2 separate regions of the Homo sapiens genome follow, and region 1 is linked to region 2. The links are contacts of gene promoters, found by promoter capture Hi-C in blood cells and fetal thymus (Javierre and others, 2016). All regions are on one chromosome and are shown on one strand. Each heading gives the region's core, a stretch centred on a gene start or on the middle of the fragment in contact. The rest is flanking DNA. Distances are from core to core; before and after follow the strand shown.

Region 1 (4,900 bases), core at 61-2,560, 5.6 Mb before region 2:
ACAGTGCTGAGGCTTTCTCACAGACTGGATTCTCCTCCTATGTTTTGGCAAAGTGCTTTGTTTCAGTTCAAATCTGAAGAGCATTTTTGAGTTGTTCTACTTTCCCACATCGACTGGCCCCAAATCTGCTTCCATCGCATTCTTTCCCACAGTTTTCTTCATTGAGAGCTGATTTCATAAACTCTCTTTCTACTTGGCTTTCCACCAGTTTCCCCTGTCGTACTCTGTCCCCACCAATGTGGTCATGGGCTAGAAAATCAATAAAACTCTTAATCACAAACAATGTGCAGCAGCAACAGCAGCAGCAGAAGTAGTGTGGCTCAGCTCCTAACTTGGCAGATCCCAGTGAGACAGAACAAGCTCTACCAGGGAGGAACGGGACCGCACAGGACATCCAACATCTAGGCTGGGTGAGACTTGCTTTCATGTTCACACTGAGAGTGACTTTTTTTTCCCTGTCTTTGGTCTTGAATCAGGAGGAGGGGTGACTTTTCTAAGCTGCTCTGGCTTAGTTTCCATTGCCTCCAAGGCTATATTCCTTCTCTTCATACCCAGCTTGGGAAACATAATTCCCTCTTCCATTGCAGCAAGCAGTCAAAATACTGAGTTAATTTTATTCATTCTACCACCCCTGTCTTTCCCTGGAGAAGGCTGGTGCTTACATACAAGACTGATATAACTTTTGCAATAAATATATTTTTACAAGCTTCTTGTATTTTATGCACCTTCCTACATTTAGGGGAAACAATTCTGTCAATTCGCTGCTATGCATGCTAAGCGAATTGTGAAACAAGTAGTGAATGTGGAACTTATGTGGGATTCACTACTGTTGGCTGTTACTGACTCCTCATCCTGCCCGCTGGCAGGGAGTGGAGGGGCCCAAGCAGTCTTCTGGGTCTCCATGTATTTGGGAGGGAGGAGCCTCTGAGACCTCAGCGGTAGGAAGTCGCATCAGAGCCTCTCCAGAAGCCCTGGTGGCTTTATGGTTGCTGGCCTGGCTCTGGTTTCCATCACTTGCTTACACCGCCAGCAGGATGACAAGGATAAAATTAGTGAAAGACCTTTTAAATAATCATCAAGTCTCGTTTTGGCACTGCTCACTCCTTCACAAGATTTTTTCCCACCAAATTAGCCAGTTTGATTGAGTTTTTGCTTTGTCTGTTTTGGTTCCACCAAGAACTAGCCAAGCAACTGGGCAATTCAGTTCTGCGGGGGCCGGGGGGGGGGCCTTCGTTTTCCCATCTGTAAATGAAGAGTTGGGCTACATAAATTCGAAGCTCAAACCTTCTCTGTCCACCTTTTCTGGAGAAAAGGTAAATAGAGCCTGAGAAGCCCCAGGAAAAGGCACATAAAAAGGAAATGGGAAGAAGCCAGGGCAACTCCAACAAACTGAATACTCAAGTCCTCTCACGTTAATGGCTCTATCTGGGCAGGCAGGTGAGGGGAGAACCTTTATCTTGACTCTAGGGAGGGAAGCATGGAAGTTTTAGGAGAACCAAGGTTCCTGGGTTCTGAATCACTGAGTCACTAATCAAGTGGCTAACTGTGTTAGTGACAACTGCAGAAGCTGGAGGGAGGGGCTGGGAGAGGAGCAGCGAGGAGGAGACGGGTGGGGGAGGAGATGGGGATGAAAGGGAAGCGTTTGCAGCTTGTGGAGCACTGGGAAGAGCAGGGACATCAAGGGCACCAAATAAAGGTCCAGGGAGCAAAGAAAGAAATGGAGAAAATTCATTCTGCTGGAAATAGACATGAGTGCAGTCAGGAAGAAGACTTACAGATTCAGGGTGACCTGATTTGATTACAGCAACAGGAAGTGCAAGAGAGAGAGGGCAGAATAACCTGACCTAAGGAAGTGAATTAAATAATAGAGAAGACACCACAGTTGCCATGGTATTAAAATACCTCATGCCACATTAAGCTTCCTCTTTCTCTTTTGCTTGATTCTTGTTTTTGCAACATGTTAATGTTGCAATGACATGTTAATGTCATTGCAGGGTATCCAGTAAACTAAATTTAGACTTTCTGGGGCGGGGAGGGGAGGGAAGATGCAGCCCAGATCTCCCTGTTTGGGTCGACTCTGGGCCAATATTGTTCCTTCACAGAGTTCTTGGGGTTTTTTGCATTATGGGATATGAAAACTCTTATGTCAGGCTTGGGCCTAGTGAAGCTGCTGAGTGAAATGATTGAAAAAAAAAAAATGAGGCCAGGCACGGTGGGTCACGCCTGTAATTCCAGCGCTTTGGGAGACAGAGGCAGGTGGATCACCTGAGGTCAGGAGTTCATGACCAGCCTGGCCAACATGGTGAAACCCTGTCTCTACTAAAAATACAAAAATTACAAAAATACAAAAACTGGTGGTGCATGCCTGTAGTCCCAGCTACTTGGGAGGCTGAGGAAGGAGAATCACTTGAACCTGGGAGGCGGAGGCTGCAATGAGCCGAGATGGCATCACTGCACTGCACTCCAGCCTGGGCCACGGAGTGAGACTCCATCTCAAAAAAACAAACAACAACAAAAAAAACCCTCACACACACACACACACACACAAAGAAAAATTGGAAATAGTTTTCAAAGGGGCATCTGTTTTAGAAATTACTTTAGAAAAACAATAGGATTGCAGAAACTTGAAAAATAAAGACAAACCGCCACCAAAACCAAATGTGTTTTCATAGATATTATTTTCTCTAATTGTTTTTGAAAAATTACTTTACTAGGCTAAAATTAAGATTATTGAGTCCTGCAATTGGTCCTCTGCAAAAGTAGACATTGCAGAGGGCAGGTACATGGTATACTCTTTTGACACTACAATATCCAGGATGGGCAGAGGAGTATTTCCAGCTGACCTATTTACCACAAATGTCATAACATTCATCAAGGGTCAGCTCTTGACCTTCCTCAAGTGGACTCACATTAACTAGACCCCGAGAGACTGAGATGTATGCCTGAATTATGATGGACAGATCAGAATACTCACACTGTCAGGGCAAAAGATCTCTCTATATAAATAAATGCACTTGAGAAGACAAATTCCATCCAAAAGTTTGCTTAGTTATCTGGAGTAGAATGAAGGACATTAGTTGTGTGGTCCACAAGACAAATACTCTGATACAGTGTTCTGAAAGAATGAGGCTGCCCACCCATCCCACTCACCTCTGCTTAGATGGGCCCTATGGCTTCTGAGGCTTCAAGCTTCTTTCTCCGTGCTCTAGTTTCTCCAAACCTGATTCTCCACACAGCGTCCTATACAGCCCATTAGGCAGATTTACACTTTCTAAGTCATAATGACATTCTCTATCTTCCTGGCATTACAGCCAAGTCACTTTAATGGGAATTTGAGGTAATCCTCAAACTTCTCAGTCACAAATTGAGTCACTCTCTTGGTTTATGCCCACTGAATTCTAGTCAAAACCATTGAGTGTGCAGATTTTGGTAGTCAAACTTTCTGAGAGCAACCTGGTTCTCAAGTTCTTGGGAAAGCACCTCATTTCTGCTTCACAAGCCATCAACAGTGGGCCAACCTTCTTAGGCTACCATGATTTCTGAGAAAGAGACCAGAGACATATTAAGACCCACGTGGCCTGTCCTGTGATACAGTCATCCAAGTTTTCCTGGGCACTCAGCTCAAAGATATTTCTATTCTGTGCAGGAGTGGAGAGGTTGGCTCTTTGCTATGATAGCTTAGGCAACGGAACGCCACCTTGAGGATGCAGATTCCATCTACTATAACATAGATGGAGGGCAAAGTGTCCTCTTCATTTTCCAAATGGGACTGTCTGGCTTTGAATCCAATATCCAGAAATGAAAATACCCATGTGGTCCTCTTCACTCAGTCACAAACAAAGACAGGTTGATTAGAGTGTTTCTGGGACCTGGCACTGAAATGACAACCCTCGATCTACAGGCAGCCCTCACCCGGAGGTGCTTGATGCTAAGCCAGCCCTTCCTGTATGTATTTGCTGGAGACCTGTCTTGCAGCCTCTTTGGATCTGGCGTGTCCTTTCAGGTCATTTAAGGTCTTATTGATCCTCCTTGCTGAGTCCATAGATCAATTCTTGGGAAAAGATGCTGTGGCCAACTTTTGGAATGTCTTTCAGACAAATTTAAAGAGCCCTGCTCAAATGCTCCTGTGCTCAAGATAGAGGACCAAAAAGAAAGCAGCCCTGTGGTAGGCCTTGTACTGTCTCCTTGGAGAAAAATGCCAGTTGAGAGTAGGTCTTCTGAAGTTATAAGCATCACTTCCCAACCTGGCATCTGGGGAATGTCTTAAGTCTGAGATAGTGTGAGTTCTTCAGCAGAGCAGGGAGCCTGGTTATTACTCAGCTGTAAAGTCTTGGCACCTCGACCTCACCTGTGTCCCCTGTTCTGTGCTCTCCCCCAAGATGGTGTGGCAAAGGTTGTGATTTGAACCAGGTCAGGTTCATTCTCAGTTGTAGACAAGATAAGAGAGAGGGGCAAGTCAGTGATCTCTCCCTTCTCGCCAATCCTATAGAATTTGGAGTATCTGCAACTAACTTTCCTTAATATTTCAAAATAATCCTTCTGAAAATGTGCATTGAGAATTGTGGAATTGGTTATATCCAAGCAGAGTCATCTTGTTTATAGGCTCATTTTCATCTAAGGGGCTATTTTTATTGCTGACATATACCTTTCAAGTATTTGGAAAGGTTTATCGTGAATGGAATGTATCCTGAATGGAATGTAATTTGGCATCTCTGAGCTCATTTGCACCACACAATAATTCATCCCCAAGACCAGAGATGTTTAAGGACTCTCCCAGGATCCCACAACTGAAATGTGGCCAAATGAGGCTCAAATCAAGGCCCATTGGGTCTTCAGCCATACTTCACACTTCATGCAGAGTGACAAGACTCCTCAGAGGGTGGGCATCGGAGGGCAGGGG
Region 2 (5,150 bases), core at 1,976-4,475:
AGCAAAACTCTTAGCAACTTCTATAAAGTGTGAGAGTGCTGGTAATTCACAAAGTCAAGCACTGCAAGAAAAGCAAGGTTAAATGACAACTGTCTAAAATGTAAATTATTGTGCAAGGTTGATAACACTTCGAAAGAATTAAAGTAGTATGACAAATATCTCTGCAAATTAATATATACATGAAAGCAAACTAGAAGGCTTTCCCATTTTTACTTGGGACAAGATAGTGATAAATACTGGGAAAGGCTGAGACACTGTTTTAGCAAGTCCTCCAAGACTGCCCTATTTTTAGCTCCATGGCTGTGGAGCTGATTCAGGTCAGGCCTCCGGCAGGCCCAAATCCGTAAGTGTAAAAAGGAAATGGCCTATCTAAATCAGATAATTTGGAGAGAAAGACCAAAATCCTAACTCGAGTCTCCTCCCCGTCTTTAAAAACTGCCACTTAGATTATTTACTTTGATTCCTTCTTAGAAATGATGAGTATTTGTGATTTTATAGGAGAAATTGTTGGCAAAAAATATAAATTATTGGTACACATTTTAAAAGGGAAGCCTGACGCTGGTATTACTTCCTTTTTCCCACACACACACACTTTGCCTTTGGCGATGATGGCTATAACTGTAGCCTACTGAATAACTGAACTTCCCCCAAAGTTCAAGGTCTTCAGCTAAGCTCATCAGACTAAAACTGAGTCACATAACTGGGAAGGGTAGTCCCTTATGCCTAACCTAAACCCCATTACAAAATACAATAAAATGTGTTACCTGATGTAACAAAGAGTTCTTAGTGTAAACTAGCTCTTGCCCCTTTTCTACTTAAAAACAGAGATCCCACTATAATAAAAGAGGCTTCTGTATAATCAAGGCCACCGAGTATCTATGGTATGCACTACGGAAATCAGGCACACCCTTCTGCTTCAATATAAACTAGGACTCAAGATAACTCAAATCCAAGTAAGCGCCAAGCTTCCCTTACCGCCATTTATTTCTACCTCCTTGCTTACCAAACTCTTGCTAGGTCTAACAGTACGTTATAAATACGGGCTGAATTCACTTCCACCTCTTCCCTAGGCTTCTGGAGGTGCTGAGGAGTCCAAGGAAGCAGGACAGACAGAGATTCAGAAAATTCACAAATGGGGCAGACTATTTACCTACTAACAATAAGGACCGGAGGCAGTGGGTGGCTGTGAACATACCCCACAGCAACACTGAAAATGAGAAACGGACAGAGCCTGGTTTGGGGAGCTTTTGGAAGAATTTTTCAATGACAATGTCCGCAACATAAAGCAACGGTTTGTGTCCGTTAAATCAATTTCTTGTTTTAAAGAAAGATTTTACGCTACCTATGGTAAATAAATGGCTTGCCTTTCAATGTTTAAAAATGAGAACAGACTGGCCTCCACATGTTAAGTAAAACATTTACTCACAAATAGAAATTTTAAAAGTTATTTAGCATTCAAAAAAGGTGAGGGAAAAGAAAACAGAAACATCATAAAAACCCCACAGGCGGGTAGGGAGGGGTGTGCAATGGGGTGTGGGGAGCAGGTCCTAGGTCAAAGGAAAGCACATGTGAATCGTCTGAAAGACACACCAGAGCAGAAACTTTTATCCAGCTACTTCGGCAGCTATTTTTCAATATAGGATGGGTTTTGGTGACTGCACACCTACAACACACAGTGTTATATAACATGGAATAAGCTCGCTCAAAAAAAAAAATTCAGAAAAATCTTCCTGAGCAACTGTGTTAGAAAATGGTTTTGAAAAGCTCCAGTTACACGTACCCTTTCTACTACCAACATCAAAACAGGCTTTTTTAAAAAAGTCAGTTCTGTTTAGTATACCTACACAGCCCAGCAGAGCATAATAAAGGGTGGAACCTACTCAAGACAAATCCTTCAAAATATTCTATATTTGTAAAAGGCTGGTTTTCTCAAACGGCAGTTTGCCCATTTGATTCAAGTGACATGGGCGAGCTTGCCTACCCTACATTCCAAAGTCCAGCAGCAAACCAAAATATGTTCCACAAGTAAAGTTTGATCCACCACTTCTAGTAAACACTTGGTTTACTGGAGTGGGGTGAGCGTGGTGCTTCTCAAACGAAGGGAAGGAAGGTGAATGCGGAACAAAAGTAAAAAATATCATGTCGCCAGGTCCCCAGCAATAAATCAACTGTACAAGCTCCGAGCAGGCCTCACAAGTTGTCCTCAACTCATTACCTCTTCATCAGGAGAGAGACACCCCGTTAATTTGCGGGCTTTCGAGTTTCAATTTGCACCTTTCAGACGCAAAGCAGCGTCCCACTCCGGCGTTACAATGGGGCGCTGTGACGACAGCCAGGGCACGCGCAGCCCCGGCCGTGGGCGGCCCGGACAGCCCGCAGCTGCCTCCCCACCCAGACCCGCCGGGCCGTCCCCGCCTCCCCTCGAAGCCCTCCCCGCCCCCCCGCAATTACCTGCTCCGCCACGGCCCGGAACAGGCACGACCCGTCCTTGGCGACCAGTTTCCGATACAAGCCCAGTTTCCGCAGATAGGCGTCCATGGGCGTCGCGTCCTCGCGGGGCCCCGCGCCGCCCTGGTCCCCGCCGTCGGGGACGCCGACGGCAGCCTCCATGTTGCTGGTCCTGCTGCAGGCCAGGCGCGGCGAGGGCTAGCCCCACATGGCCAGGCCGCCGGCTGCTCGACGCCCCGGCCTGGGGCAGGCGGCGGCTCGGGCTGGGGCTCGGGCTCCGCGAGCGGCGGCAGGCGGCGGCGGCCCGAGGCAGCGGTCCGCGCTCTCCGGGCGCATAGGGAAGCCCTGCCTAATGCATGGCTGTCCGCACGCGGCCGCCTCCTCGGAGCGAACACGCGCCCACGACAAACGGGGGGAGCGGGATTAAGGAAAACCCCGAGAGTGAGTAGTCACTTCCCGACGGCCTCGCTGCCTGACTCAGGACCCAGGCCGGGGGTCGCCGCCCCCACAAGTTTCCTCCTCCGTACCGGTGTGAAGCGAGAAAACCCCCGCCCCTGGCGCGCACGCTGGGCCGGCTCAGGTGAAGCGGGGCCTGCGCCCCCGCGCACTCCCCACGCCGGGAGCCGAGGAAACCAAAAAGAAAGACGCGGCCTTTCGTTTCCCCACCTCGCTGGAGGGCGCCGGAGGGGCAGGGAGCGGGTGGGGGCGCCCGGGAGAGAACAGCACCTCGCAGCCCAGAATTTGTTTTCGCTTTCGGCCCGACAGCGGAGAGGACGGCGGGAGATGTAGTCTTGGCAGCCGCAGGAAGTCGGCTTGCGGCGGGCGGGGACGCGCTGGCCGGCCTACCCGGGGGAGGTGCCCGGGAGGCGCGCGGACTACAAGTCCCTACAGCGCGGGCGCGCCGCCGCCACCGCCACCGCCCCAAGCCGGCTTCGCGCTGCACTGGCGCCGCGTCCGCGAGCAGGCCGAGGGGCTCCGCCGGCCGATGTGGGGCGACCTGCGCGCGCCACCCGCCAACCCTGCCGCTGCGCCGCGGGAATCGCGCGCGCCGGGCTGGCGTGGAGTTGCCAGGGACACGGCGGCGCAGTGTCGGCCCTTTGTGTATTTCTTTCCAGAGGGCGCACCTGTCTGCTCCCTTCCCCCCGGCCTGCTCTCCTGGTGTTTCCATGGAGGTGGCTTTAACGGCTTAAGCAGAAAATAGAGCTAATTGGCTGAGGCTCCGGGAACTGGCACGGTGCGGGACGACACACTCTGTCCATAAATCAACCGTGGACTGCTGATTGCTATTAGTAGTACAGCTCACGTACTACGGCAAGATGAAGGCTTTGCCAAAGACATTTTTGTTCACCCTGTCACTGTAGCTGAGCACCCCATCACAGAGACATGTCACTGTCGGAAGACGTTAGGGTTTTTTTTTCCCCCTTAAAAAATTCATCTTGTAAATTGCTTGATAACATGCTGACTGGACTGGCCATGGCTTCCACCAGTGCTCGAGGCTTCAGCTCAACTTCCCACCCTCCGACGTTGAATGGCAGGGAATTGACAAAGTTAAATTATGCTTTAGAACCCAGAATTTATCCAGCATGCTTCTGTTGCACCAAAATTTTATTTTGCTAAGATACAACATCTGGTGTCCTTATTTAAATACATGGTTAATCATAGGAACTAATTCAGTCTTTTAGGCTATGGTGGAGGAGAGGGAGAAGAAAAGGGAGCATTACTATAGGTTTAGACATGTAGTCAAATACCTTGGAATGGGGGGCAAGGCAGGCCAGGTGGTGAGAGTCCAACGACAAAAATTTTTTAAAAACTACGTTAGACACTTTTCAGTATTTTCAGTGCAAGCAATCAGTCATGTATTCACTTTCCTTGGAGCGTCTTTGATTTCTTAATGTTTAAATATTGTATCTCAAATTATGCTGCTTTTAGAGAATACAAACGTTATCGTTACCTAAATGAAAAAATGTCCCTGCCTCAAATTTACTTGTTGTAGCGAAGAAACACTTTGAAATCAGGTTTAGAAAAGTATAGTTTCAGCTGGGCGTGGTGGCTCACGCCTGTAATCCCAGCACTTTGGGAGGCCGAGGCAGCCCGGTCACCTGAGGTCAGGAGTTCGAGACCAGCCTGACCAACATGGAGAAACCCCGTCTCTACTAAAAATACAAAATTAGTCGGGCGTGGTGGCACATGCTACTCGGGAGGCTACTCCCAGCTACTCGGGAGGCTGAGGCAGGAGAATAGCTTGAACCCAGGAGGCAGAGGTTGCGGTGAGCCGAGATCCCAACATTGCATTCCAGCCTGGGCAACAAGAGCGAAACTCCGTCTCAAAAAAAAAAAAAAAAAAACGGAAAAGAAAAATATAGCTTCAAGTCAAACCTGTTGCTTTTCTTTTTAAAATACACTTACATTGCATATACTTCTCATTCTTCTCAAAAAAAAAAAAATTCCTGAGTATTGCCACTACTTAAAACATGGATCGCCCTTGTTTTTGAGTTTAAAAGCTTGCCTTTTAAACTCAAAGAGAAACTCAAAGTAATATCTAAACTCCTGCTGAATGAATGTAGAACAACCTCACTCTAAGCTGGCTGCTTCTGGTTCCAAAATTAGAAGTGATGCACCTGTTATATCTGACCCTGGGCCTGTTTAAGGAAATCCTTTAGGTATTTTGAGACTTAATCCAAGACAGACCCTCTGTATGCCAA

What was found. The method cuts DNA at HindIII sites, captures the fragments that hold promoters and counts their contacts. A CHiCAGO score of 5 or more calls a contact.
Region 1: a contact is called between a fragment that was not itself captured here and the fragment with the promoter of OTUD4 in region 2, in 1 of 17 cell types (total CD4 T cells). The highest score is 5.5, in total CD4 T cells.

What each region holds. Positions count from the first base shown.
Region 1 is chr4:139,559,008-139,563,907 of GRCh38, forward strand. No RefSeq gene overlaps it. Among named protein-coding and RNA genes, the nearest start is that of SETD7, 5.2 kb to the left of the region's middle. The HindIII fragment of the contact is 1,212 bases long and covers 705-1,916 here.
Region 2 is chr4:145,177,364-145,182,513 of GRCh38, forward strand. OTUD4 (OTU deubiquitinase 4) reads right to left here and starts at 3,226. Exons shown (of 21, transcript NM_001366057.1): 1 at 2,452-3,226. The coding sequence starts at 2,610. LOC124900794 (a long non-coding RNA gene) reads left to right here and starts at 4,830. Exons shown (of 2, transcript XR_007058294.1): 1 at 4,830-5,150. RefSeq lists enhancers at 653-902, 2,328-3,157, 3,158-3,987 and silencers at 2,333-2,792, 2,913-3,142, 3,233-3,632. The HindIII fragment of the contact is 3,984 bases long and covers 964-4,947 here.